2 separate regions of the Homo sapiens genome follow, and region 2 is linked to region 1. The links are contacts of gene promoters, found by promoter capture Hi-C in blood cells and fetal thymus (Javierre and others, 2016). All regions are on one chromosome and are shown on one strand. Each heading gives the region's core, a stretch centred on a gene start or on the middle of the fragment in contact. The rest is flanking DNA. Distances are from core to core; before and after follow the strand shown.

What was found. Contacts are between HindIII fragments. The CHiCAGO score rates a contact against its expected background, and 5 or more counts as called.
Region 2: the fragment with the promoter of PPM1A here is called in contact with the fragment with the promoter of ACTR10 in region 1 in 2 of 17 cell types (naive CD8 T cells and naive CD4 T cells); the score reaches 5.1 in naive CD8 T cells.

The regions. Positions count from the first base shown.
Region 1 is chr14:58,198,880-58,202,080 of GRCh38, reverse strand. It overlaps ACTR10 (actin related protein 10), which reads right to left and starts at 1,932. Exons shown (of 13, transcript NM_018477.3): 1 at 1,787-1,932. The coding sequence starts at 1,863. RefSeq lists enhancers at 1,550-1,739, 2,360-2,489 and a silencer at 1,900-2,289. The HindIII fragment of the contact is 4,366 bases long and covers 1,574-3,201 here.
Region 2 is chr14:60,247,920-60,250,894 of GRCh38, reverse strand. It overlaps PPM1A (protein phosphatase, Mg2+/Mn2+ dependent 1A), which reads right to left and starts at 1,674. Exons shown (of 6, transcript NM_021003.5): 1 at 1,218-1,674. RefSeq lists silencers at 691-1,430, 1,631-1,730 and enhancers at 1,831-2,180, 2,241-2,290, 1,600-2,328, 2,871-2,975. The HindIII fragment of the contact is 6,782 bases long and covers 1-2,975 here.

The DNA.
Region 1 (3,201 bases), core at 683-3,182:
CATAATTAACTCATACAGTAAGCTTCTGCCCATATTAACATAATCTTCATTGCTATCACTTTTTTTTTTTTTTTTTTTGAGGCAGGGTCTCGCTCTGTCGCCCAGGCTGGAGTGCAGTGGCACAAACTCAGATCACTGCAGCCTCCGCTTCCCAGGCTCAAGCGATCCTCCCCCCTTGGCCTCCCAAAGTGCTAGGATTTCGGGCACGACACTACCGCCGGCTAAATTTTGTATTTTGTGTAGAGCTGGGTTTCCCCATGTTGCCCAGGCTGGTCTTGAACTACTGGGCTCAAGTGGTCAGCCCGCCTCAGCTTTCCAAACTGCTGGAATTACAGTATTATTTTTAAAACCACATATTTCATTATTTTAAAAACGATGCTCTTTTCTTGAGTATTTAGGTATTTCCATTTTTGTTTCATGTTAGTAAAACAAAAATTTGCTAAAAACGTTGCTAAAAATGATCATCATACTAGTTTAGTCTTAACATCCTGTCTTCTTGTCCTGTCTAGTTTTTGATACTGCTCTCCTCGTATTCCCAAATAATTCTCTCCATCTCCTCCTATTCCCGTCTCCATGTTTACTTGCATCAGTGCTCCTCAAACATCTCAGAATGCAAGCCATTAGACTTCAATTCCTTTTTTTTACTTCATACATTTATCTTATCATCCTCCTGCTGTCTTTTTCAAATATAGCTTTTTGCTTATTTCTTCCAAGTACAGCCAAAATAATTATCTTTGACTAGAAGCCTCGAACTGTTTATTACGCTTTCAAAATAATTTTAATAAGAAAATATAAATAAGGAAGGGCCTCGCATAGAACAATAAGAGAATGTCATTAACCAAGGACTATGTTTAATCCAATTCTGGAGTTCCTGGGGTCCAATTTTTAAATAGGCTCTTTTAACCACTTAGTCAATAAATAGTTATTAAATACCTACTACACGTCAGGAAGTGCCTAGAGATATAAAAAGATTTTTCAAATGTTTCATTTTCATAAATACATATATGATGTAATTGCCTGTTACTTCCCTCTCTGTTGAGCCCATCACAAGGACTCTTAATCTAGGGTCCCAGGACCACATTGATTGTCTGCCAATTCCCTGAAACTGTGTATAAGTACCTTAAGATTTGTGCATTTGTGGTTTTCATCCAGCCATTAAAGAGATCTATGCCATCCGAAAGGTTGAGAACCTCCTCTCTATTGTTTACAAGTTGGTTTGTTTAAAACATGTCAAATCTAACCTTCGAGTTTAGGGGAGCCAACAAAGGATTTCCAGAATCTTATCTATAGGGTTTCACCTCTTAATGTGCCCAGTCTCCCTAATTCTTGAGCAGCGATAGCCCTGTCTTAAACATCTTTCCATTTTCAGCACCAAAATAAACTCCGTTCAATATTTTATGATGAAATTCGTCATCGAGCATTTACATTCGGTTGGCTGCCTTCCTCAACTGAGGAGCCCAGGGTAAGCGGGGTCTAGGTCACGGTTGTCATCCCCTACACAGATGATCCCAAAGGGTTTGTTGGGTTTGGGGTGATGACAAGGGGCGGCGACGAGGGCAATTCAACAGAAGCTTTCTGGGCCTCTCTGGGAGTCAGACCCCGATCCTCGGATTCGCATCGCCCAGGGAGGAAATAATAAGAGCTGTTATTTGCAAGGGCGCTGGTTGAAGAAAAGGGGAGGCCCGGAGCTGCCCAGCGAGTCGGCGATGAGGACCCAGGCAGTGCCTGGGGCTCTGCCACCCGCCCTCCCCTCGGGTCGAACACAGCTGGCGTCACGGCCACTCACTTGGTAAAGGCCTCTCCCAGGTCGATCACGACCGCCGTCTTCTCCCCGCCGCTCCCCAGGCCCTCGTAGAGCGGCATGGTAGTAAGGCAGACTGAGAGAAGAGGGTCGCAGTCTCCGCGGCCAACAAGTCTCGGCGCTCGCGGGGCGGGGCCGGGGCTCCGGCGCTCGGGCGTCGGCGACGGCGGGGGCCTCGCGCGGCCGCGGCGCGCCGGGCCCGGGCTGTCCCAGGCTGTGCCTCATTCCGCGTTGGACCCACCCTTGCAGGTGCTGCCGTCGCCAGGACTAGGGGAAAAGAGGCGCTGGCGGGCGCGAATCCGAGTGCGGGGGCGCGGAGGCCGCGGCGATCAGGCGCGCCGGTCGCCCTGAGGGGGCGGAGCCGGCCTCCCTATCCTTCCCTCCCACCACGCCCCAAAGCCGCACCCACGCGCGGCTGTGAAGAGGTTCGGTCTCAGCTCACTGTGAAGAGGTCACTGAGGACCTGGCTGCCAAGGGGCAGCCGAGAGACGACGCAATTCCGAACCTTTGATTCATGCTCTTGGGGGGCAGAAGATGCTGAGACCCTATTCTGTGCTAGGCGTTTTGCCTAATATTTAATCTTCTCAAGAAATAACAAGAATATGTGTTTTCTTATCTGTGGGGACCGACGCTCAGAGAGATTAACTTTCCCAATGTCCCACGGCAGAGCCAGGAACAAACCCACAGACTTCCTAATTGCAAAGCCTATGCTAATGATGCTTTAGAGAATAATACGTACAGACAATACTTTAGTTAGTAGTCTTTCTGAAAGTTTTTATTTTACTCCAGAATTAAGCAGCTAGAGTAGCGTCTGTGAATCTTGAATCTGTCCATAGAGGAGCGGTCGGGATGGTTTAATAGAAGAAACATTGAAGCAAAGGCCCCTATTAGGTTGGTGCAAAAGTAATTGCTGTTTTTGCCACTACTTTTAACATTTACATTACTGTTTACATCTTTGTCACTTCACAGCTTTCTGTGAAAATATTTTTTTCCTGCAAATATTAGCTCTAACTGTATCTATGCATAGGAGTGGAAAAGACTGTCAAAGGAGAGGCTGTGCAATAAGAAAAGAGGTTCAAGGGTAAATCGGTGAGGACTAGCAACATTTAGCTGGTGTACTGGGTTGAATGATGCCCCCCCCCCCAAAATTCTTGTCCACTGGGAACCTCAGAATGTGACCCTATTTGGAAATAGAGTCTTGGCAGATGTAATCAAGTTAAGATGAGGTTATACTGTATTAAGATGTCCCAACTGTCCGAGCGCAGGATCACACCTGTAATCCCAGCACTTTGGGAGGCCGAAGCGGGAGGATCCCTTGAGCCCAAGAAGTCTAAAGCGGCAGTGAGTCGGGATTGTGCCGCTGCACTCCAGCCTGGGCAACAACAAGAGTGAGAGCCTGT
Region 2 (2,975 bases), core at 425-2,924, 2.0 Mb before region 1:
AAAGTGTTTCAAAGAGAGTTGGGGACCAAGCTATGCTAAATTCCCAAGTGCTCTGGAACCCTAAGTCTCAGCAGAGTAGTGTTTCAACAAATCCCTCCACTTTTCGGAGCGCAACACATGTAAAGTGGTTGTGTTTAAAACCCCAACGTGCAAGTTTGAAAAGACTGTTTTACAAAACAATTGTTAAAATGTCTAATTTCTCTCAATAATGTCAAAATCATTTCCTTTGAGAAAATGATACCTATCTCTCATACTCTTCCAACCACTTCTTAAAACACATTCAGCTCATTATTCCAATGAGCAGGAAACTTGCGGGGAGGTGGGGCTAGCACACAGATCCCATGGCTTGGACAACTGAAGCATGACTTTTGTGGATTTGTACCATGTGGTGTTTCAGGAGAGAAGAAAAATACCTCAGGTGATGAAATTTTCAAAACGTATCTAAAACTGCAGTTGGTAGAAGGCTCTCCACAGCCAGCTGTCTTTCAAGAAAAGGCTCCAAGTTTATTTAAAATCTACAAGCAGAACAGAACCATACCTCAACCAAGCTCTAACATCAAGAAGTTTTACCCGATTTACGTAGTTAAAAGGATAAGAAATCGGAATTTACTTCAATGGATTTGTTCGATGCCTTAATAATGAATGAACTAGAGGCATCACTCACTGACTTGAGTTCTGAAGGAGTCTCTCAGCCCTGCCCCCTGTAAAACCTTAAGCAATTTCTACAGAATTAGGTTTTTCGAGGCTAAGCCCGGTTCAAAGGAAGTCTCCCCGCCTCCCTCCCAGGGGCTGAAGCCCAGGACAGCCGGGGCGGCGCGCCCGAGCGGGTGGGGGCGCGGGGACGCCCCCTCCCCGCTCGGGAAAAGTTCTGCAGGCCGCTCTCCGGCCAGGCCGGCCTGCGGCCGTCGCCTGCTTCGCCGCCACAAACACCCATCTCGGCCGCGGACGGCCAGAGGGTCGCGCCCCCTCCCCGCGCCACCGCAACTAACACCCCGCCCCCGCCTCCCCGCCACCGCCCTCGCCGAGCGTTAACCCCTCGCCGTCCGCCGCCCGGCTCGGGGGAGGAGGCCGGCCAGGGGGTGGAGTTGTCGCGTCTCCTCCCGGGAGCGCCCGGGCAGACGCCCGGCTTGTTTACAGGCCCCAGGCCTGCCCGCCGCCGCCGCCGCGCAGGCCCGCACCGCCCGCCAGCCCGCCGTCGGCCCGAGCGCCGCACTTACCCGGAGCAGCCGCAGGCGGGCAGGTCCCTGGTCGGCCGAGGCGGCGGCGGCGGCAGCCGGGGAGGGGGTCACCGCGGCGGCGACGGCGGCAGCCGGGGGAGGGGTCACCGCTGCAGCGGCGGGCCAGGTCAGGCTGGGGAAGGGGCGGAGGAGGGGAGGAGCCGGGCTGCGTCCGGGCCCCCGGCTGTCGGCGCCCTCGCGGCTCAGATCATCCGGGCGTTGGAGAGGGAGGCAGAGAGCGGGTCCCGGAGAAGGAGGAGGAAGAGCCGAGGACTCATCGCTTTCGCGCCTCAGCTGTCTAGAGTCCCCCCACCCCCCCCTCCCCAACCACCCGTTCCGGAGCAACAGCCGCCTGAGGACCCGAAGCTGCGGGCCGGACGAGCGCCGAGACCACTGCTCTCTAGCTCCCGCGCGCGCTCCCGTCCCTAGCGCCGCCACCGCCGCCGCCGCCGCCTCTAGCGCGGCCCCGCGCAGGCGCGCTCACGACCGCGTCGCCCCTCCCCCACCCCTCCGCTCGCCCCGCCCCGCTGGCTCCGCCGCCGCTACAGCTGCGGCGCGGCGCGCAGCTACAGAGACCCGGATGTCGTTGGGCAGGAACTGCGGTGAGGGCTGGCGGGCGGGGGAGGGGCCGCCACAGATGACGTCACTGCCTTACCCAGCTTCTTTCTCTGCCGCTGCTGCTGCCGCCGCCTTTGCCTTACGGCCTGGAGCACCAGGCCGAAGCCGAAGGGAGCGTCCGGATCCCGGATAGCAGCCAGGACCCGGGCCTTCACGTTCCGGCGCCAGGGACTGGACAGAATGTGCGGCTATTAGGTGCCCAGTAGATCGACAGCCCCTCCGTGCCGGCCCTTGGCCAAGTAGGGACTCGGAAGCTACCCCTACGGCGTCCGCGCCCGGAGCCCTGGCTCTTCTACCTGCCTGCAGATACAAACCCCACTCCCTGCGAAGATGGTGTACACGCAGCCCCGAGCACAGACCCGAAGCTGTCCACCCTTCTTGGGCGCCGTCGCGGTCTGGCCGCTGCCCTTCGAACCCATGGTGGGTCCCAGGCAGCTGCCAGACCCCCCTACCCCAGAGTCCCACTCCTCCAGAGCCTTCCTCTCCCAGTGACCCCAGGAAGCCCAAGCAGGTGCCACGGCCACACACCTCGCGACCCAAAGGGCAGAGACACAAGCACGCTACCACCGCCCACCAATGTGCGAGTGCAACTGATTCACGCACGGGGCACATGCTCTGAGTTTCTGGCAGGTTTTCCCTCTATAGTTCAGGGGATTCCACATTGTATTTATTTGCACATGTTAGATAATCACGTGGTTCTGTCCCAGGGGACCTCCAACGACCTCCAATGAGGTAGGTTAAGGGAACAGGATTTTTCAAAATCAGGAGAATAATCAGAAACATAACAGCTGCTTCTATTAAGAGGTAGAGATGAGCTAAAGTTAATAGAAACTGCACGTGCCAGCGGCCAAAATCCAGTTTAGCTAGCTGGAAAACCCGACCCACGCTGCTTGCAGACGCCGGGGATAGAATGACAAACCCTAGGCAGCCAATGAATCGCAGCCTAGGAGCAGTACATCACCAGCACGGGTTCCCATTGGCTGGGGTGCCCTTCCCTCTCTTGTCAGCGGCTTAACCAGTTCACGAATTTGACCTACACCACATTCGCAGGAAAAGAAGTTAGAAGAAAAGTCCGTATTTTTAAAAGATGTTCTGATGCACACACAAACCAAAGACTTCATTGTAGAAGGCAGGTTCTTT